Regions from separate parts of the Homo sapiens genome. Here all the other regions are linked to region 2. Evidence: promoter capture Hi-C in 16 types of primary human blood cells and fetal thymus (Javierre and others, 2016). All regions are on one chromosome and are shown on one strand. Each heading gives the region's core, a stretch centred on a gene start or on the middle of the fragment in contact. The rest is flanking DNA. Distances are from core to core; before and after follow the strand shown. Region 1 overlaps LOC124901349 (a long non-coding RNA gene). Region 2 holds the start of TENT5A (terminal nucleotidyltransferase 5A). Region 3 has its middle 48 kb from the start of LINC01621. Region 4 has its middle 45 kb from the start of LINC01621. Region 5 has its middle 61 kb from the start of LINC01621. Region 6 overlaps ELOVL4 (ELOVL fatty acid elongase 4). Region 7 overlaps LOC124901351 (a long non-coding RNA gene).

Region 1 (3,185 bases), core at 682-3,181, 2.0 Mb after region 2:
CGAAGTGTCCCCTGGAGGCAAAAGCATCTCTAGCTAAAACTATGGCTCCATGCCCAAAATGACTTACTGAATACATTTACATGCATAGCATATGCTAGGCATTTGTAGGAAGGAAGGATGGGTGTATGGAAAGAAGGAAGGAAAGGAGGAAGGGAAGAGAGAAAGAGAGAGGGGGTGGGATGTAGGGAGGGAGAAAGAGAGAGAGAGAGAAAGAGAGAGAGAGAGAAAGAGAGAGAGAGAGAGAGCCCCAGTGCAATATCTCAAGGCACCCGCATTTCAAACAAGATACTACACAGACAAAAATACAGCAAAACTTACTATTATGGAATTGCCTTTCACATTCAAAAGAAAATAAAGGTCAACTTTCCACTCCTCTTTATCCAAAAGAAAGTTAACTTTTAAATTAATATCTTCCACATGAGCCCTAGTTGAGACACTGACATCACTTCTAGATTCTATCAAACTTGCACACTGGTTTAAAAATGCAGAACCAGAAGTCAAGGGGACGAGGTGTCCAATTCTGGTAATGTCACTAATGCAACGATTTAAAAAAAACCATGTCAACATTTTGAACTTCTGTGTTCTCTAAAAGATCATGTATCTCCCAGGACTCCTGCTTATGGAAGCATTTTCAAATGTATCAGGTCCTATCCAAATGGTAAGGAAGATATAACTGTCTATCCTGTGTGTACACCTCAGATTATCTTCTCAAGGGAATGATGCTTTCATTTACTTCTTTTTGTCTTTCTATTAGCTTAGAACATATATTTAGAAGGATTTCATTTTATTTGAGATCATAGAGGGAAGGAAGCCACTTTTTCAAGTGGTCATAAGAGCCACAACAGAAGGCCTCTGAGTCAGAGTGGGATGACACAGTAGGCTGTGAAGCTAGTGCACGACAGAATTGTGCCACTGACTCCACTCTGGTCTAGAACTGGTGGTCATAGGCCCCTAGAGGCCCCTAGTGGAGACCTACTTAGAGGAAGATAGAGTTGAAGCACTCTCTGATGAACAGGGCGTTGGCATTGAATGGTCCTGTGCTTGGTGTAACGCTCTGTGGGTGTTACTTTGAAAGATTTTTTTAGCAGGAGGCTCTCTGCATTTTTTTTTTTTTTTGCAGTGGGCCCCACAACTTATGTAGCCAGTCCTGCCAAAGAAGAATGTTTTCTTAGGGGTACTTGAAAACCAAAATGAGCTCATTCACTTCACTTGAAATTGTCCCTCCATCTGTCCCTTGACAATAACCATTCCTATCTCTGAGGCTCCTTGAACACCAATCGTAATAAGTACAGGTACATCTACTGGGTACTTAGCATGTGCCAGGCACTGTACTAAGCACTTTATACATTCATTACAAATTTGTTCACCTTCATATCTCCACAAATTACTGCTCCTCCATTTTACAGATATAGGAAGTCAAGGAAGGTGCCCAAGGTCACACAGCTATGAAGTGGAGGAGCCAGCCTCCAACTCCCACACCTGCTCCACAGTCTGTGCATTTGTTCACATGATTCTGCCTCCACAGACACCTCCCTGGAGGTCTAAATGTATAAAATCCATACTTCTGGCACTATATTACCTATCTGTGTTAGGCCATTCTTGTACTGATCTAAAGAAATACCTGAGACTGGGTAATTTCTAGGAGTTTTAATTGGCTCGCAGTTCTACAGGCTGTACAGGAGGCATGATGCTGTCATCTGCTTCTGGGAAGGCCTCAGGAAGCTTACAATCATGGTGGGAGGTGAAAGGGAAGAAGGTGTCTCACATGGCAGCGGCAGGAGCAAGACAGGGAGCACGTGGAAAGAGGTGCCACATACTTGTAAACCACCAGATCTCCTATGAACTCAGAGTGGGAGTTCACTTACCACCAAGGGGATGGCCCAAGCCATTCATGAGGGATCCTCCCCCATGATCCAAGCACTTCCCACCGGGCCCTATCACCAACACTGGGGATTACAATTCAATATTAGATTTGGGTGGGGACAAATAGCCACCACATTATATCATGATCACTTAAATGTAGCCAGTAAAGGCCTCGTGGGCCAAACATCCTGGTTATCCTTGCCTCCTTCACCCTTCTTCTCCCACCTCACATTCAATTCCTCACATATTCTGTGAGCTCTATTCCTGAAAAGCTTTCAGAGTTTGACTCCTCATCACCTTCGCCACTTTCCACTCTGTCCATGCCACCACTGTTCCTTCCATGGGTAACATCTGTTCTTGTGGCATTCTGGAGCACCTTTAAAACCAAAGTGTAATCTGTCTCTCCTCTTTCCAACAGTGCCCCGATCACTCAAAATGGAGGCCTTATTGTATGCAGCTGCATGGCCCTACAGAACATAGCCTCATCCCCACCACAGTCTACCTGGCTTACTCCACTCTTATCTCATTGGCCTTGTAGTGGCTCCTCAGAACAAAACAAAAGCACCAGAAACTTTTTTCTCCCAGGTATCATGCAGGGCATTCAATCTCTTTCTTCATGCATGTCTCTGCTCAGATGTCCTCTTACAACGAAGGCCTTTTCAGACAATGCATCAAAAGCAGAGCCCCTCTCCTGCCCTACTTTGCCTTCCTACCCTGCTCCCTCTCCTTAGCACCTAGGTTATGTTCATGAACCAAAGACTGATTCTGTGTATTGAACCCTACCTTGTTTATTTCCTCACTGCAGGTTAAATTGTCAGCTCAAAAGCCTGCTGATGCCAAATGCAAATTTTTACACATCCAGTTATTTAAAAAATAGCACAAACAAGCAGATTTTTAGCCATCTGGAGCCTGCCTACTTTACGTACCCTATGAGGCCTCACCCAACAGCTGTTGCTCATTGATCAGATGGGGCCTTGTACTTATAAGGCCCTGAACACTGTGGCCCTTCTGAGCTCTCTGACCCAGACTCTCTGCTGTACTGCTGAGTGACATCACTTAGATCCTCTAAGCCCCCTTTCTAATCCCCCTCTCTCTTGATTTTCTGTTTGCTCTTCTCCCCTTCTAAACAGTGGCCCCCTTGCCCTAAACCTCTGGATGGTCTCACTAGGAGAGACATCCTCTTTCATGCAACCCCATCCAAGAGCCATTCAGTAAAGCATGTTGTATGTTACTGCCCCCTGTGCTCACATCTTTTTCCTTGATCATCTCCCAGATCCCTCCAACTCAACTCCTACAACAAAGCACCCTTATGTATTTTCTGT
Region 2 (3,117 bases), core at 538-3,037:
ACTTCTCTCATAATACATATGCAACTGAACCATAATTATGCACCTAGGTGCTATGCCCTCTAGATTACGTGAAATGTCATTCTTAAATCTTCAGCACTTAGCCTGTTGCCTGGCACGTAACAGGTCACTAAATGCTCTCTCTATACACATGCTCACACAAGAATATGCATATGTATATATATGTATAAAATGCCTGGTTAAGATAGATTCATGCGCCGATGGCTGGTCAGAGGAACACATGGGTGTGCTCTGAAGGAAGCGATGGCCCTATGCGGACAGGGTAGTTGTCCTAGAGTCCCCAGGCGCACCTCAGTGCTTAGGCGCAGCGCTGAGGGGATGGCCTCTGCCACAGAGACAGTCGGATTTCTCCATTTTGGGACGCAGCTCGGCAGGGCACCGGGAGGGGGCGGCGTTGTCACGCAGCTGGATGCTCCACGGGTGACACCCCCGCACCCTACCCCTCACCCCCGAGCCGCGCAGCTTGAGTGACTAGGCCGGGGCTCCCCCAGTTAGGAGGTGCGGGCTGTTTTTCCTCCCAGTCTGGGCGGGCAGGGCTGAGCAGGGTTTGGGGAGTATTCTGTGACCCTGGCATTCTCCCCTCTGCCCCACCTCAGCCCCCGGCAGCGTCTAGGCGCTGGGAAAGCTGCTCCGGGTTAGTTGATGGAGGCAGCGAGCTGCCGAAGAGACGGCCACAGCTTTCTAGCAAAGAGTGGTGGTGGCGCGAGTGAGCGTGCGTAGAATTAGCTCTGCCGAAGTCACCGAAGCTGGAGGAGAGAATTCATTTTATTCTTGAAACTCCTACTTTTACGTCTCGTGGAAAACCAAATCGTATTCCACTGACACTATGATGCACTTAAAATGGCCAAACTTTAGGGGGCCGCGAGGAACGCGCTTCGCCGCCTCCAATTTTGTCAGAGAACTCGCAGCAAAGGCACCGGACACCTAGCGGCCCTTTCCCTGGACTCCGGGGCAGCACGCACTCCCCGGGCGCGCTCTCTGCGCCCACTCGGCCCGCCCAGTCCTCGGCCATTGGCTGCTCGCCCGCGTCTGCTCCGTGACGCGCCCTGACCCCCGCGAAGTACTGGCCCCTTGGAGCCACTCGTGCGCAGGAGCCGCGCACGCCCGAGGCCCGTGGTGCCGCCCCCGCGCCTTCTCGGGCTCGCCCAGAGCTCCCCGGCGCGCTTCCCGAGGTTTCGAGAATCGAAACCCAGTTATCAACAAGCCCTTCCCACTCACGCGCCGTGACTGATTTGCGTGCAAGAGTGGACTCATGAGTCCACACTTGGATCGGGTTTATCAATGGAGTAAATGGTCTACCTAAAAACCGAGGTTTAAAAGAGCGGTCGTGAGGAACCTCCGGAGCCCAACCGTGATGATCTAAAGACGGGCTGAGTCCGCGAGAATTTTGGGAAGTTTCTGCAGTTGCAGGATTTTAGTCGTGATCTGGTTTTGATGACCACTTATGATTCCTGGGGCATTTAAAGTGTCTCCTCCTGGGGAAAATGAAAAGAGATTTGTGGGAGGGGGCGTACATAAATTAAATGTATGTATAAATACACGCATCTACGGGCGCACACAGTATCCGCACATACAGCCCAGGACCTCACGCTCACCGGCAGTCGTCCCGCACTAACTGCTGGGCTAGTCAGCTGCGTGCCCTGCGGGCGGGGGAGGGCAGAGGGGGCGGCGCCCTATGCAGATGAGGAGGGTGTGGCGAACGTGCCGCTCTGGGCCCCGGAAGCGCAGAGAAGCCCGGTATAAAAAAAGTACTGAAGACATTTTCCCCGCACAACTGCTAAAGCTCCAGAGACACGAGCGTGTGTGGCAGCAAGAGCCGCCAGTTCGGGACCACCGCAGCTGGGGTGGCAGCGGCGCAGGAGGGGTCGCGGGGAGGGAGTGGTGAGCGCAGGCGGCAGGGGTCTGGGAAAGACGAAGTCGCTATTTGCTGTCTGAGCGCGCTCGCAGCTCCTGGAAGTGTTGCCGCCTCTCGGTTTCGCTCTCGCTCGCTGCGCTCCTAGAAGGGGCGGCCGCCTCCAGGTGACACAGACGGGACTCTCGCTTGCGCTTTCCAGATGCATCAGAGATACTTTTGGTGCGGGGCTGCTCTGCGGGGCGCGGTGCGCGGCTGGGGACTGTAAGGGCCGGGGGAGGGAGTCTCCGAGGAGGCCCGGGGTCAGGGAACTATCGGGGGAGGGGGCGCTCTTTTCCTGGCGGGCCTCTGCTCTCCGCCGCCGCGCGTGCTCTCCGCCGCCGCGCGTCCTCACCGCGCTCCTTTCCCTTTCTTTTTAGGACTGACCAGGGCCAAGTGGCGCTCGGCGGGCACTACATGGCGGAGGGTGAAGGGTACTTCGCCATGTCTGAGGACGAGCTGGCCTGCAGCCCCTACATCCCCCTAGGCGGCGACTTCGGCGGCGGCGACTTCGGCGGCGGCGACTTCGGCGGCGGCGACTTCGGCGGTGGCGGCAGCTTCGGTGGGCATTGCTTGGACTATTGCGAAAGCCCTACGGCGCACTGCAATGTGCTGAACTGGGAGCAAGTGCAGCGGCTGGACGGCATCCTGAGCGAGACCATTCCGATTCACGGGCGCGGCAACTTCCCCACGCTCGAGCTGCAGCCGAGCCTGATCGTGAAGGTGGTGCGGCGGCGCCTGGCCGAGAAGCGCATTGGCGTCCGCGACGTGCGCCTCAACGGCTCGGCAGCCAGCCATGTCCTGCACCAGGACAGCGGCCTGGGCTACAAGGACCTGGACCTCATCTTCTGCGCCGACCTGCGCGGGGAAGGGGAGTTTCAGACTGTGAAGGACGTCGTGCTGGACTGCCTGTTGGACTTCTTACCCGAGGGGGTGAACAAAGAGAAGATCACACCACTCACGCTCAAGGTAACACCACCCGAGATGCACTTGGGTCCTGACCCAGTCTGGGCCGGGTGTGACGGGGAGCGGGCAGAGGGGCATCGGTTAAATGCCATGAATCTGTGGCCATCACGAGTTTGGGCGCGCGTTATTTCTTTGATTTTTGATTTTTTAAACCAGTAAACTGACGTGCGTGGACGGTGTTGAGTGTTTCAGTTTACTTGATGCTTTGGCGCTACAACTCTTCTCCCAGGTCCTCCTCTGCC
Region 3 (2,989 bases), core at 452-2,951, 2.0 Mb after region 2:
GATAAAGGTATATTCCTAAGTATTAAAAACAGATCATCTCTACAGTTCTATTTCTATGCCTTGGTCAGCACAAGATTGGAAAAATGGCCAATGGTTATAAAACTTTTCATACATGTTAATCAGATAAAAGCTTCAAGGCTTAGAAATAGCCTGTCAGGGGTGCACTGAAGCCAACTCACAAGAGCCAATTATTATCATTTCCCAAACTGTGTTCTGTCACGTTGCTTGCATATCTTGAATTTGTTAATTGTGGGAGTCTTTATACCATGAAAACTGACAAACACTACAAATCAAGACTTTTTTGGAGTGCTTGCTACTGACATAGGATTTTTTCAGGGCCACTTCACCAGCCAGAGACCTCCGTGGCTGGCAGGGCCTCTGCTCAAGTTTCACTCATGCCCAGTGGCCTTGCTCTGCCCACTTGGCCCAGCAGGATGTGCTTGGCTCACATTAGTGGTTCAGATCCTGTGCTCACAGCAGGATCTGAGCTCAGCCTTCAGTTGGGCCATGCATGCTGTGACCTGGTTCCACCTTGGGCTCTGGCTTCTGGATGAGGGGAATGCGGTGGTGCCTGAAAACTTTGAAGACAGCAGCAACCTCAGAACCCCAAAGAGGGTGTTACAGTATGTTTGTTCCCACCGCCCTCTTCCAGCCTGTGGCTTCTGGCCTGGCCCTGCCGTCACTTGCTCTTGCATGGGGCAGCTGCCCAGCACCAGCAGAGGGCAAGAGGGCTACCAATGTTACAGCCCCTTTCTGCCCCACTGTTCAGCAGGTCCCGGGTTCTTGTCTCGCATCCAAGAAGAATGAGGTTATGCAGACAACCACAGTGAGCAAGGAGGGGAAGAGTTTTACTGAGCAACAGAACAGCTGTCAGTAGAGAAGGGATGTGAAGTGGGTAGCCCCTACTCAAAGGCGGGTAGTCCCAATGTGTGGCTGAGTACAGGTTTTTTATGGGATAGGCGAGTGCCTGCTGACTGGTCCATGGGAAGCCTGGAAAAAGCACTCCATTCAGGGACTTTACCCGAAACTGGCAGGTTGGTTTTCAGGTTTCAGGCTGTCTTTGGCTTGGAGGCGAGGTTTCACCAGGGACACGCCCCTATCTGCCTAGGAATTTGTCTGCCTCCTGCCACTATCATTAGCAGCACACCCCTGGGCCTGATCCAAAACTCTGATGTTCACTGTTTGGTAAACTCATGCCGAATATTCCCCTGCGTCATTTGCTGTTAACAATGTGAAATGCTGTGGCTGATGTTGCAGAGGTAGGTAAGGAGCCTTGGTGTAGTGGGACATTTAACGTGGCACCATCCCATAGCAGGAGCCTGAGAATGTGTCTACAAGGTCAATCTGTTCTGTCTTATAGCTCATCTTTGTTTTACTTTATTCACATTAATTTATCTTTATTGGCTTTTTGTGTTTCATTGTTTTGGGAACTTATGTTTGTTGGAATCTCACATCACTTAATAATTAAACAGTTCTATTAACAGTAATTATAGATCCTCTTTTTAGGTCTTGTAAATCTGAAAAGACAGACTGACAGAGAAAACATCTTAAAAGGAGGCATGAAAAAATCTTCTTCAATTAAACTACTGAAAGAAAGTGGAATTCCTTTCTCAGAAGTAAGGGCTAGTAAGTAAGGGCTGTGCAATTTTTGTTGCTATTTTAAGCTAATTATAAGTTGTGTACTAACCTTATATATTACATATATTCAGACTATATTTTTTGCTTGAAATGGTATCCTGGAAAATTCAGAGACAAGGCGAATGTCATCTCAGCTCAGGTCATACATTTCTTTTCTTAAATATCTTGACTTCAGAGATGGTGAATTCCTATTCTATTCCAGGCTGGTAGACTTGCTTTCTATTAATCCAAATCATTTTAATGTGGAAAGACAGGTCCCCTATACTGTTACCCACCAATGAACAGCCCTCAAACTCCTCATCCTTGGCCACAGCATTTAATCTTCATCTGATGTGAGCATATGTAATTGGATTCATTATTCTCTGAAGGGCAATAGACACTGAATTTTTAACTATTCAATCACACTATCAGCCCACTGAATTATCTCTACTTTTTCTGGCTTCCTCTACATTTTCTGAGCAGTAAGCTATTATTTTTAATATTTGGCATAGTTTAATACATAAGGTGCTGTTGGTCATAGAAGACAGGGCAGAGTTTGAATTCACCTCAAAGGAGAATGTAATTTAAAATTACTAGATTTTTCCTAAATATCCAATCGATGCCATAGTGGGGTTTTGAAATAATCACTAATTCTAATAAAAACTGAGACAGAAACCAAAATTACTACAGCATCTATTTTCACAGGTTGCCAGAAATGACCATTTCAGGTCTTGGGTCAATGAGAACAACACATTTTTGAACATAGTAGGAACTTATTTATAGATCTATGTTTGTCTACTTCCCAGTACATGGGCCAGCATTTCTGTTTGGACTGAACTTATCTATAAGTTACTGTAGTAAAAAGCAAACCTCTCTGTGTGCAAACCCCAAGGAAAGAAATGTCCTCCAGTATTCCTGTGGTTTACCATTACGGGAGCTGAAGAGTCAGTCATCCAAGGTATGTGGCCAAGAGGCACCTAGAAGGTACAGGATGACATAAATCACGTAGAATTTGCCAAATAACTCTGCATATGGGCTAAAAACATATGATGCTCTTGAAATAAAACCCTTACCATCTCCATCTCCCAAAATGAAATTTTCTTTTTTTCTCATGCTTTTTTTTCCATAGAGCCCATGCACATGAAGGCTTAATTTCTTTCCAGCATTTTAGCAGAATTTCCAAACTTTTATCTTTTTAAATGTCTATATCCTTTTAAGTAGCAAAAGAAAGAGTCACTAATTAAGTATGCTGAGGGAAAATTCAATTCATTACAAATTATCTAAGAGCTGTACGCACCATTCCAGTTATGAAGAATCAATCCTACTCAGGGAACTAATGAGCCCTAGCTTCTCCATTAAATTGGTGCCTGTC
Region 4 (2,995 bases), core at 71-2,570, 1.9 Mb after region 2:
AAAGGTCATTCCACAATCTTGTGGGATTGCAGACAAAGGGATTTTTTTCTCTCATCTGCCTATTTCTTGCTGGACAAGGTTGATGAGGGGCGACTGTAGAATAAAATAGTTTGACCCGCCTAAGGAAATAGTCCTTAGTGTTTCTTTTAGGAACAATGATCATGGGCATCTCCTTTCTTGCTTTGATAGTCAAACTCATGCAACCTTTGGTTATGCAATACATAGTAAGTTTTACTAGTACGTAGGCCGCCATGACAAAAGAAGAATATTAAGGCCCAATTTAAGAATGCTTTCCAGGATTAACTGAATTCCACTAGGAATCCCAGAGAACAGGTCTATAAACCAGTCCCTGAAAGTGCCCAGATTAATTCTGCTTTGGTGTTCTAAAGTTCGTTGAAGTCAGGTGGCCTGTTGTATAATTTTACTAATATGGGTCTCTACTTTAGAGGAGGAATTAATGTAAGTGCAACAGGTGGCTTAACCTAGGGAGGTCATTTGGTCAATAGAAATTACACTTGTAAGCTTGTGGGTTCTTATTATTTCTTTGCACATAATGTGTAATGCAGTGCTGAGTAAGAAAGAAGCATGGACCTCTGGGTACGAAGTTATCAATCAGACCCTACAGGTGATTGGAGAAACAGGCTTCAGGTTGGTGCAAGAGTAATTGCGGTTTTTGCATTGTTGAAATTTGCCATTTGATATTGGAATGCATTCTTAAATAAATGTGGTAGGACATACATTTTTATTTCACTTACTGTTTTTGTGTAAGAGTAGCTTTGGATCCTCCAAGGGCTCCCAAGCCCCTTGTTTTCCTGGTTTCTTCTGGTTGTGCTGCCTTGACCTGAGTGTGATGCACCTATGGCTTTCTTCCAGCAAGCTTAACTGATGAGTGAATATTTGACAGCACTTTGAATGGCCTTGTCAACTTGGCAGGAGGTCAGCGTTCAAGTCCTTTTTTTTTCAGAGTCTTCAGGAGGACACAGTCTCCCAGTTGAAAATGATCTAGGGCTACATCTGTGGGATGAGTGGTCCTGCTAGAAGCAAACTCATGAACAGAAGTCAGTATAGTGCCCAGAGTCTTAACATATTTGGCAACTGCTAAATCTTTGAAAGCATCAGTTGGTGGTCCCACTGGAGCAGACACCTGGAGTAGCCTACCATAAGGGACTCAATTTGAGCCTACTTCAGAGAGCCACTCTAATCCATAACAGGGCAACCAGCAATGACTTATCCCAAATCAAATTCATTTCTTGACATATTTTGACAATGCGTCTTTTGAGAGTATGGTTTATCTATTCAGTTTTTCCCATCAATTCTGATGTGATAATTGATCACAGCCAGTGCCAGAGAAAGGCAGTCTCCCAATAGATAGAAAAAGCCTGAAACTGAGGATCAGCAACTTCCCAATAAAATCTCAGGAGTTGGATGAGTAGTCTGAAGCACATGCATTAAGAGGCAAAATGGCAGAGTAACTGGTATGTGTCCTTCCTCTAGAAACACTCAACTGGTAAGGGAAGGCCCAAGTGGTGTACAATCTCAGTAAACACACTGCGATGCGGCCCCTCCCAAGTGCTGACAGGCCGCTGCACATGCAGACAGCCTACCCCAAGGGAAGAATCAGAGGAGAAGTAACACAGGACCCTGGAAGCATGCCAGTGTATAAAACCCCAAGTCAAAAGGTCAAACCATGCACTTCATCTCTCTAGTCACCTGCTTGGTCCTCTTCAAAGTGTACTTTCTTTCATTCCTGTTCTAAAGCTTTTAAATAAATTTTTCACTCCTGCTGTAAAACTTGCCTTGGTTTCTCATTCTGCCTAAGCCCCTTGGTCAAATTCTCTCTTCTGAGGAGGCAGGAATTGAGGTTGCTGGCTTCACTACTGGTAACATAATTTGGTACCACAGGAGTCAGATGCATTATGCTGCTAACATTTCCACCCCTCCGCATTTGTATATTGAAGCCCTAACCCTCAGTGTGATGGCATTAGGAGATGAGACCTTTGGGAGGTAATTAGGTTCATATGAGGTTATCAGGTGGAGTCCAGACAATGGAATTAGTGCCCTTATAAAAAGACATATCAAAGAGCTTGTTCCTTCTCTCTCTCTTTGCCATGTGAGGAGCTAGCAAGAAGGCAGCTGACTGCAAGCCAGGGAGAGAGATCTCTCTGGGAACTGAATCCTCTGGCACCTTGATCCTGGACTTCCCTGTCTACAGAACTGTGAGAAATAAACATCTATTGTTTACATCGCCCAGTCTATAACATTTTGTCATGGCAGCCCAAGCTGACTAAGAAGGGGCTTAGTAACATGGTCAATATGGGATCACATTGCTCAAAATGCCATAATGAACTTATGAGAAAAGACCAGAAAGTTAAAGGTTACACTCTATTGGAGCTGATACATATTCCCTCTCCCAAATCATACACTGACTCCCAAAATAAAAAATACTACAGCCTATTCAGTTTTAATTTGTGTATTGAGATTTTCAATTAAAAGGTATTATGGTCAGAAATCAATGAGAAGAATGCACATTCATTAAATGTATTCATTATAAGTAAATAAGTCTTAGGAAGGCCGAGTATTTCTTCTACTGCCAAAGACTTGTTCTTGATTAAAGTGTAGGTAAAATATACACGCAGGCTGACATTTTAATTCATTAAGATTCCTTTGCTTGGTTCTGGAAGTTTCAGAGACTAAAGTTTGTTACCATTGACAACATAGTATTTTCAGTAAAAGGAACTAGAAAGCAATGAAAAATCAGAAGCGAGGGGGCTTAGAGAGACGTATACCCTCTAAATATACACAAATTTCTACCCTGTATTTATTTTCAAAAGAAATAAATTTTAAGTAATGCTAATTTAACCAATGGGGAAAAAACTTTCAAAAAATATACATTCTCCATTACAAACTAGAAGGTAAATATTAAAATACAATTGTAAGCCAGTAAGTTTGCTTACACAGATAAGAGTCATTATCCCTTTGAAACACAAAGCATCAA
Region 5 (3,215 bases), core at 117-2,616, 1.9 Mb after region 2:
TATGGCTTGGAATCTACTTTGATTTGTTAGACTTGCAGTTAATTAATTTGTTCATTGATTAATTCATTTGTCAAACTTTTAAGACCTTCTACTACGCACCAGACACCAGGTTGAACACAGAAGATACGGAGCTGAATAAGAAATGATTCTTCTCTCAAAAATTTCACAATAATATGCTAATGTTTCCTGTTTCACAAGCTCTGAACTCTTTCCTAAGATCTAGATAAATGAAATTGCCAACTGGATGGTTTGTTTGCTCTTCAAACTAGCATGTCAGAAAAGAGTCTGGCTTTACCCCTCAGCCACCCCTACTCACATTTGTTTTTCACCATTTCTATTAGTGTCCTCAGCACCCCAGCACCAAATTATCTTCCTCCTTTTCTCGTCTTCCCAGCCTTGATTCCTCATCTTTCTCTACACATACCTCACACTTTAGTCAATAGCTCTGTCCTGAGCACACCCAAACTCTTCCCAGTCTTCCAGTATCAAGACTACTTTTAAGATCTGCTTCCTTGCAATGAGTTTCGTGTAAATTAGAATGCACATTGTGACAATATTAACTTTTATTGTCAACTTCTGTTCCTACCGTAAATGCATTTTGTAATGAATCTTCTCTCTATGGCTGTCCATGGAGGATATATTATCATTTTGTTTTACATGTGAAGAAATCAAGTGACTTGCCCATGATTATACTACTGGCAAGGGTCAGGGTCAGAAAAACAGTTTGCCAGTTTCCCAAGTATGAATCCTTTTCAGTGCTTGACGATCGTGAAGCAAGTTCTTAGCTTCTCTCAGCAGCATTTCCCAAAGGGTGTTCCTTGAGATGCTACTTGATGCTATTCAACAAACAAAGAATCCTACAGACAAATGAATTTGGGAAATGATAAGAAATTAAAACCGGCTTCTTTTCTGCTAGTATTCTCTGAATTTTTAACATGCTAATGAAGTGCATTGTGAATATATAATGCATAATATTTTATATAGCACTTTCTGAAGATGACCTAATTACCACAGAACCATTACTTCACAGCCTCTCTCAGACTTGTTTTATTCAGAATAAATCAGAGAAAATGTCTTTTAAAGAAAGGGAGCTTGGGGGTCACAGCACTAGTTCATATTCTCTTAATTTCACTTGACATGAGAAATCTTCACCTTAATATTTCCTGGTTGACCATTCAACAAGCTTGTTATGAATTCAATTACACATCAGTTTCAACCTTTGTCAAAAGCTTTTCTTAGGAGGCTCAAGGAGGTGCCTCACCTTCTGGCAGAGAACTAGTGAGTCTGTGTTTACATTCTCAGGAAAATCATATTATTAATTAATAAGAACTTCTACTTTTTTAACACTGCTAAATTCAAGACACTGGAGCACTTATCTCACTTAATCCTCAAAACTATTCTGGGGAGTAGGTACTAATGTGACCTCTATTTCACAAATGGGAAAGCAAAGGCTCAGTAGTACATGCAAGTAAGCCTATGACCACCATAATAGTGATAAGCTTAAGGCTCATCACCAAGTCTCTCTGATCAGAGCCCGTGCTTTTAGCCTTATATTCTTATATCCTGACTCATTATCAACATATTTAAAAATAGGTGAATGTGATTGAATGATAGAAAAAGAATGTACCAGGAGACAGCCATGTCTGTATCCACCTCATGATATTTATAGCTCCTAGCACAGTGCTTAGCATGTAGGAGGTGTTTAAGAAATCTCTGTTGAACAGAAATTAAGTTGAATGACAGTATGGAGCCTTATAAGGGAGGTATATAGAAACAAGAGAACACACTTTGAAAAAGAGCATCAATTAAACAACATAGTATCTTCATTGTGAACATGTGAAGAAAAATCACATCACTCTTTGGAATGACTGGAATGATTCTGAGAGCTACTTGTTTCACCAGGGTCATAGTTTCCCTGTTGGCTTATTGAGCTAGAGAACAAGATGCTGCAGCTAAGCTGTCATCATCGCCTCTCTTTGTTGTTGCTCTTTTATTACATGTTTCAGTTGCAGCAGCAGGGATGAATCAGGCATACTTACACAATCTTGAGTTTCCTGAAGGAGAATTGCCTGTTAGTCGTATATCAACTACTCACCTGCCCAACCAGTGAAGATTTAACCTTAGATATTGGAGCATGTGCACATGTCAGAAATGTAGACAGAGGATAAGTAAAGAAATAAAAAGAACATGTAAAATCATCTTCTAAGTAACTTATTCAGCTACAACCGAGAAAAATTACAAATGTTATGATCGTGTCTGCAAAAGGAAGTGGATAGGTGTATTTAGATGAGTTTCTTACACTGAGATAAGTAAGATAAGTTAAAGATAATGAAATTTATATGCTGGGGTGATGACTAAAGAAGGAAATCTTAATTACCCAAAAGAGTATGGATGGTATAAATCAACAAGGAGGGATAGAATTGGAAGGCCTAAGAGTTAAATAATTAGGAAAAACAACATATGATAAGAGAGAAAGGAGGAAATATCTAGTCAAACAACTTGAAACCGTCCTTGTTTGGTCTTAATATTAATCCTATTCAGTTGACTCTCTGATTCAGCAAGATGGGGCTCAAAGTTGAAGAGGTAACACAGCCTCTCTACCTCCTTTCAGTGTTCTGGATTTCTCATGAGTCAGTTGATGATACTCAGAGTGTGGTGCTGACACCATTCCCATTCACGTGTCCATTAAAGTAAACACCAGTGTGCACAGTGATCATTTTCACTGTGGGAACATCTGTAATCTGTTTTATTTTTATGTATTGACCTTAGTTTACCCAGACTCTTTATTCACAGGATTCAGAAGGTGTATCACACTAAAGTTAATGAAACCAAGCAGCTCTTATTCCCCCTTCTTCATAGCTCCTAGCATAGCATGAAACATGGTAAGCACTTAAAAAATGCTTGTTCAGAGAATGAGTAGAGGATCTAAATGACTGAAAGAACATAGAGTTAAAACAACCACTATTACATTTTGGTTCCAAAATTTTTCTTTTCATGAGATTAACTGTTCTTTGTACGGTCTGAGGTTCTTACCCCACATAACCTTTTATAATCCAATATAAAGTGGAATTACCAGATTTAAGGAGTTTACATCTCCACTGGGGCTATGTTATAAGCTGCCAAATGCCAGTGAAATGGCATAGAAAACACCATCAGAATTCTGACATATTGCTCTCTAGAAATACACCAGTTCATTCAATGAGTGCCTTATGTTC
Region 6 (3,215 bases), core at 615-3,114, 1.8 Mb after region 2:
GAGCTAGAATTTAGGTTTTTAATTCAAGTCTTGTCCCTCTCCCTGTATCAAGCTGCCTCTACTCCATGTGACTCCCCTTGCCATCATCTAAGATGATTTCCTACTGTATTCTTGTATACCTTTTCTTTAGTTCTTCTAGGGGTTTGGGTGTTCTAAAATTTTTTTAATTACTGTTTTTTCTTTTGGGAGATTATAGTAAAACTTTATTAGCTTAGCTTACTTGGGGAAGATAGTTCATTCTGACTGGTGGAGATCCTGATTTGCAAAAAGCTTTAAAAGAAATCAGAAAAAAAATTGGTCTATTAGAGGTTTTTAAGGAAGTTGCTTTAATAAACATACTGATAATTTGTTGTAAGTATTAATTATAGTTGTTTGTGTATTAAGTAGAAGTTACCTGGGTTAGTTGAAAACTATTAGATTACAGGCATTTTATTATTTATTAAAATCTGGTTTATATTGTCATGAAAAGGAGTTTTTAAAAATAGCCTCTCTAAATAATTTTAAAAATCAGAGTGAGAATTTTTATGTATTTTATCTCCTGAATAAATAAATACAGAATTATAAAATGTCTTCTCAGTCTATGTCATAAAATGTTTTTTTATTCTCAGTGTAAACTCTTCTAAGTTTAATTATTCATGGTAATTTTTATTTAATTTGGTTTAACTTTTCTCTTTGAAGATAGAGGAGGATTTAGTGGTTGATCAGTGTCAATAATAATGAAATGCCAAAAATTATTGAACTCTGACACTGTGTCAGATGCTGTATACATGTTGTTCTATTCCTCACAACAGCCCTACTATCATCTATAAGGCCAGGGGCACTAAGTAACTTCTTGGGTTTATTCAGCTGGTAAGTGAAGAGTCTAATGCTGGTAAGTCTGATTTGAGAGTCCATATTCAGAATATAGAACTCTCTAGGTTGAGAAGAAAAATCCTGGAAGACATTGAGGGGCTTGACTTTTAAGGGGAGGGGCTCAGATTATCTCTGACATGAGACATACTTTGTGAAGATGTAAATTTGGGAGAGAATAGGCTGCAGCAGAAGGGAATGCATGACGTCGTGGTATCCATGTGTGCTAGGAACCTTCGCATACTTTGGTTCATTTAGTTATCACATCTTAACCCTATGAAGTAACTATTTCCTCATTAAAAAAAGAAAAAGGAAGAACAGTTGGTTTTCCAGCTATAGATTCTGTTCTGCACCCTTTCCTTTTGGAAATTTCTCGGTCTTTGTGACATGGTTTTCTCTTTTCCTGCCTCTCTGGCTTATTTGCTGCCATTTCACCCACTCATCTTCAACTGTCCTCAGAGTCATTCCTTTTTCATGTTATTCTCTCACTGTACATGCTCCTTCCCTTGTGACCTCAAACTCTGGTGTGATTGTCATTGTCAGTGACCCCTCTGTGTGTCCACAGCCCTGGCAGTTCCTCTGCAGCTCCAGAGGCTACTGGACGCCTCCACCTAGCTGTCCCAAAAGTAGCTCAGATGCGAGATGTTCAACATTCACCTGATCAGTTTCTCCCAGATCTGCTCCTCTTCCTTTACTCTGTTATGGATCATGACTTCACTGTCTGTGTTGCCAGATAGACCAGAAATCTGGGAGTAATCCTGAACTTTTCTTTGACTCTCTTCTCTCACATCCACAACAGTCGTGGAGTCTGTAGATTTTACCCACGAAACCTTCGTATCTACCTATCCTGTTCATTGCCAGTGCAGCTCCCTAACCCAGGTTTCCATCATCTCTTATGTCCTAGTGGTCTCCAAGTCTGCCTGCCTGTCAGAATCACCTGGGGGAGCTCAGATCATAGTGTCCAGTCCCACCCGCAGAGATTTTGATTCAGTAGGACCTGGGAATCTATAATTTTAGCAAGCACATGATTCTTACATGGGTAGTCTAGTGGTAGACAAGTATTGAGAACCACTGATGCAGTTGGTTTTCCTGCCTCTTGACATATCCCCTTCCCCTCAGTCCACACCCCACTGCCTCTACCATGATCTTTTGAAAGCCAAAACTGGCTGGGTGTGGTGGCTCATGACTGTAATCCCAGCACTTTGGGAGGCTGAGGTAGGTGGGTTGCTTGAGCTCAGGGGTTCAGGGCCAGCCTGAGCAACATGGCGAATCCTCGTCTCTACAAAAAACACAAAAATTAGCTGGGTGTTGTGGCATGCACCTGTAGTCCAAGCTACTTGGGTGGCTGAGGCACGAAAATCGCTTACGCCCTGGAGGTGGAGGCTGCAGTGAGCTGAGATCATGCCACTGCATTCTAGTCTGGGCAACAGAGCCAGACCCAGTCCCAAAACAAACAAACAAACAAACAAACAAAAACAATCAAATATCTCTTCATTATCTACATGATAAATTCCAGCATCCTCAGTGTAGTTTGTAAGACCTCCTAGGGGATCATCACAGTCATTTCCTGCCCTCTTCCTTTGTATATATCCTCTTCATCATGTCTGCTTAGTTTCCAGATTGTTTTATTTCTTGCTTCTGGGCTGCTTATACATTCAGTTCTCTCAGGGTATTCAGATATTCTCATTTGCTTATATCTTGTCATTGTACTAAGGGAACTTTTGTAGGTCTTTCTAATTCTGCCCCGTGAAAAAAGACTTTTCTCCCTGTCTGCTTGTCAAATTCCTCTTCTTTGAAAAAAAGTTCAAATGTCTGTGTTTATACCCTGCCTTCTCCCCTTTTCTGTCCTACCACTGTTCATAAGACACTCCTCTGACATAACACTCATCACACTGCATAGCAGTTGAATTCTCATGTCTGTCTCTTCCTCTGCTAGTTGAGCATTGAGAGATCAGGGACCAAGTGATCTGGCCAAAATCACTTTGCTGCAAAGGAGTAGTATATGACTTTGGAGTATATGACTTACCATCTATTCCACCATGCTATGTGATCTTAAGATAAAAATCAGATTAAGAATAAAAACTTATTGGTGGAAGATATTCAAGGGAAACCCCATTTCAGGTGGACTCTATTTTTTTTTTTTGAGAAGGAGTCTCTCTCTCTCTCTCTGTCACCCAGGCTGGAGTGCAGTGCGTGATTCCAGTTCACTCCAACCTCCACCTCCCGGATTCAAGCAATTCTCCTGCCTCAGCCTCCCGAGTAGCTGGGATTACAGGCGCACACCACCACGCCCAGCTAAATTTTTTTTGTATTTTTAGTAGAGACAGGGTTTCACCATGTTGGCCAGGCTGGTCTTGAACTCCTGA
Region 7 (3,122 bases), core at 154-2,653, 1.8 Mb after region 2:
AATTTTTTATAGATATTTCATTGTTATTGATTTCCCATTTAATCCCCTTGTGGTCAAGTTCTATATTATTTCCTATTTGAAATTTATTAAGAGTTATTTAACAGCCCATAAAATTATAGATCTTTGTGATTGTTTCATGCCCATGAATTTGGCCTCCACCAGGTCAAATGATTTACAGTGTAATACATCTCTTCTATATTATAATTTATCTTTGCCTATTTATTATATTAATTATATAATAGGGGTATTAAATTCTATAACAATAATCTTGAATTTGTCTAATTTTTTTCTTAGTCTGTCAAATATTGCTTTATGTATCTTAAAGGTCTGTTATTACGTGCTTACCTTTTACTGGCTCTTTTATCTCTACTAACTTTGGTCTGTCCACATCCTGACATCCTTTAAGGAAGTGAAAAATAAAAAGCTTCTATTTTGCTTTAGGCACTTTTCTTTTGGGTTTTTCTGTAATATGTAATCATATCTAATGCTAAATGATACAAATACTATGACAAAAAAGTACAAGACACCGTGAACATGTGTGTAACGGGGATCTAACCTTGTTATTGGAGTCAGAGTTTTCCTAGGTCATACATTTAAGGTAAAGTGGGTATTAGCTCTAGTCAGAGGTTGTGAAAGAGTATTCCAAGAGGGAGAAAGTTATGTGCAAAAGCCCTGAGTCAAGGGAAGCTTGGCTCTTTGGAGAAACAGAAGGAGGTCCTGATTAGCTTCCCTGTATACTAAAAGCAGAAGTGGTAAAGGAATGATAGGCATTCTAGATCACACTTTCATTAGGCAAGAAGAAAGATTTACAATGTTCTAAGCTTCTAGATGTGGAGGCTTTGGAGCTTCCTGAGAGTACTAGAAATATTAAGAGATTTTAAGATGAGAAATGCCATCATCTGACATGCAATTTTAAAAGATACTCAAAGTACTGTGTGAGAATAAATTGTAGGAGGAAATAAATGGATGCAGAGAGATCAGTTAAGGGGTGATTGAGGCCAGGCACAGTTACTCACGCCTATAATCCCAGCACTTTGGGAGGCCAAGGCAGGCGAATTACGAAGTCAAGAGTTCGAGACCAGCCTGACCAACATGGTGAAACCCCATCTCTACTAAAAATACAAAAATTAGCCGGGCATGGTGGTGAGTGCCTGTAATCCCAGCTACTCAAGAGGCTGAGACAGGAGAATCACTTGAACCTGGGAGGCGGAGGTCGCAGTGAGCCAAGATCATGCCACTGCACTCCAGTCTGGGTGACAGAGCAAGACTGTCTCAAAAAAAAAAAAAAAAAAATGAGGTGATTGAAGTTTGAAGTGTTTAAGGTGGGAGAGAAATGATGGAATTTTCGGTTAAATTATATGCAGTAGAGCTGAGGGAAGTGGAAAAAATCAAGATATATTTTGCAAGCAGAATTAATAGGAGGTGGTCATGAATTGGATGTGTGTTGGAAGGGAGAATATTATAAAATGTCATTGATCACTTTTGGCATGTGTGGAAATAGGGAAATATGAAAGAAGAACAGATTGTGGGAGGGGGGGAGATAGGTTTTTAACATGTTGATTTTCAAGATGCCTGAGTTACATTAAAGAGAACCACACAAGCTATGAGATACATGAGCTGGAAAGAAGATCTAGGTTGAACACATATATCTGAGAGTTATGAATGCAGATGGTAACCAACGCTATGAGAGTGCATGAAATAATTTAGGCAGGGCTCTCTGCTCCTCCTGTTTGACAGACAGCTGCATCTTCTCTTGCATTGCCAACCACATCCCTGAGACACCATGGGGAAAGTGAAGGTTGGAGTCAATGGATTTGGTTGTATTGGGCGCCTGGTCATCAGGGCTGCTTGTAATTCTGGTAAAGTAGATATTATCGCCATCAATGACCCATTCATTGACCTCAGCTACATGGTCTACATGTTCCAGTATGATCCCACCCATGGTAAATTCCATGGCACCGTCAAGGCTGAGAACGGGAAGCTTGTCATCAATGGAAATCCCATCACTATCTTCCAGGAGCCAGATCCCTCCAAAATCAAGTGGGGTGATGCTGGCACTGAGTATGTCATGGAGTCCACTGGCATCTTCACCACCATGGAGAATGCTGGGGCTCACTTGCAGTGGGGAGCCAAAAGGGTCATCATCTCTGCCCCCTCTGCTGATCCCCCCATGTTCACGATGGGTGTGAACCATGAGAAGTATGACAACAGCCTCAAGATCATCAGCAATGCCACCTGAACCACCAACTGCCTAGCGCCCCTGGCCAAAGTCATCACTGACAACTTTGGTATCGTGGAAGGACTCATGACCACAGTCCACGCCATCACTGCCACCCAGAAGACTGTGAATGGCCCCTCCAGGAAACTGTGGCGTGACAGCCACAGGGCTCTCCAGAACATCATCCCTGCCACTACTGGGCTGCCAAGGCTGTGAGGAAGGTCATCCCTGAGCTGAATGGTAAGCTCACTGGCATGGCCCTCCGTGTCCCCACTGCCAACGTGTCAGTGGTGGACCTCACCTACCATCTGGAAAAACCTGCCAAATATGATGACATCAAGAAGGTGGTGAAGCAGGCATCAGAGGGCCCCCTCAAAGGCATCCTGGGCTACACTGGGCACCAGGTGGTCTCCTCCGACTTCAACAGTGACACCCACTCTTCCACCTTCAATGCTGGGGCTGGCACTGCCCTCAACGACCACTTTGTCAAGCTCATTTCCTGGTATGACAATGAATTTGGCTACAACAACAGGGTGGTGGACCTCATGGCCCACATGGCCTCCAAGGAGTAAGACCCCTGGACCACCAGCCTCAGCGAGAGCACAGGAGGAAGAAAGAGGCCCTCACTGTTGGGGAGTCCCTGGCACACTCATTCCCCACCACACTGAATCTTCCCTCCTCACACATTCCATGCACACCCCTTGAAGAGGGAGGGGCCTAGGGAGCCCCATGTTGTCGTGTACCATCAATAAAGTCCCCTGTGCTCAGCCAAAAATAATAACAATCATAATAGTTTAGGCAGAAAGGATAACATAAGTAAAAAAAAAAACTTGTAAAGCAGCCAGAAATAATTGAATTTTAACATTCACAGGCCACAAAAAGAGGAGAAACCGACAAGGATGAG

The links. Contacts are between HindIII fragments. The CHiCAGO score rates a contact against its expected background, and 5 or more counts as called.
Region 1: a contact is called between a fragment that was not itself captured here and the fragment with the promoter of TENT5A in region 2, in 3 of 17 cell types (total B cells, naive CD4 T cells and activated CD4 T cells). The highest score is 9.9, in total B cells.
Region 3: a contact is called between a fragment that was not itself captured here and the fragment with the promoter of TENT5A in region 2, in 1 of 17 cell types (total B cells). The highest score is 7.1, in total B cells.
Region 4: a fragment that was not itself captured here is called in contact with the fragment with the promoter of TENT5A in region 2 in 1 of 17 cell types (naive CD4 T cells); the score reaches 5.1 in naive CD4 T cells.
Region 5: a fragment that was not itself captured here is called in contact with the fragment with the promoter of TENT5A in region 2 in 6 of 17 cell types (naive CD4 T cells, naive B cells, total CD4 T cells and 3 more); the score reaches 9.6 in naive CD4 T cells.
Region 6: a contact is called between a fragment that was not itself captured here and the fragment with the promoter of TENT5A in region 2, in 4 of 17 cell types (naive CD8 T cells, fetal thymus, total CD4 T cells and 1 more). The highest score is 9.8, in naive CD8 T cells.
Region 7: a contact is called between a fragment that was not itself captured here and the fragment with the promoter of TENT5A in region 2, in 4 of 17 cell types (total CD4 T cells, naive CD4 T cells, naive CD8 T cells and 1 more). The highest score is 10.5, in total CD4 T cells.

What each region holds. Positions count from the first base shown.
Region 1 is chr6:79,780,711-79,783,895 of GRCh38, reverse strand. It overlaps LOC124901349 (a long non-coding RNA gene), which reads right to left. Exons shown (of 2, transcript XR_007059655.1): 2 at 1,633-3,185. Among named protein-coding and RNA genes, the nearest start is that of LINC01621, 30 kb to the left of the region's middle. The HindIII fragment of the contact is 413 bases long and covers 1,725-2,137 here.
Region 2 is chr6:81,751,351-81,754,467 of GRCh38, reverse strand. It overlaps TENT5A (terminal nucleotidyltransferase 5A), which reads left to right and starts at 1,787. Exons shown (of 3, transcript NM_017633.3): 1 at 1,787-2,037; 2 at 2,290-2,878. The coding sequence starts at 2,327. RefSeq lists enhancers at 716-765, 1,626-2,126 and a silencer at 1,586-1,715. The HindIII fragment of the contact is 5,877 bases long and covers 1-3,117 here.
Region 3 is chr6:79,763,065-79,766,053 of GRCh38, reverse strand. No RefSeq gene overlaps it. Among named protein-coding and RNA genes, the nearest start is that of LINC01621, 48 kb to the left of the region's middle. The HindIII fragment of the contact is 3,137 bases long and covers 133-2,989 here.
Region 4 is chr6:79,855,759-79,858,753 of GRCh38, reverse strand. No RefSeq gene overlaps it. Among named protein-coding and RNA genes, the nearest start is that of LINC01621, 45 kb to the right of the region's middle. The HindIII fragment of the contact is 881 bases long and covers 880-1,760 here.
Region 5 is chr6:79,871,942-79,875,156 of GRCh38, reverse strand. No RefSeq gene overlaps it. Among named protein-coding and RNA genes, the nearest start is that of LINC01621, 61 kb to the right of the region's middle. The HindIII fragment of the contact is 270 bases long and covers 1,232-1,501 here.
Region 6 is chr6:79,932,329-79,935,543 of GRCh38, reverse strand. All of the region lies in intron 1 of ELOVL4 (ELOVL fatty acid elongase 4), which reads left to right. Among named protein-coding and RNA genes, the nearest start is that of ELOVL4, 14 kb to the left of the region's middle. The HindIII fragment of the contact is 3,184 bases long and covers 273-3,215 here.
Region 7 is chr6:79,952,673-79,955,794 of GRCh38, reverse strand. All of the region lies in intron 1 of LOC124901351 (a long non-coding RNA gene), which reads right to left. It also overlaps the pseudogene GAPDHP63. Among named protein-coding and RNA genes, the nearest start is that of ELOVL4, 6.7 kb to the right of the region's middle. The HindIII fragment of the contact is 1,160 bases long and covers 824-1,983 here.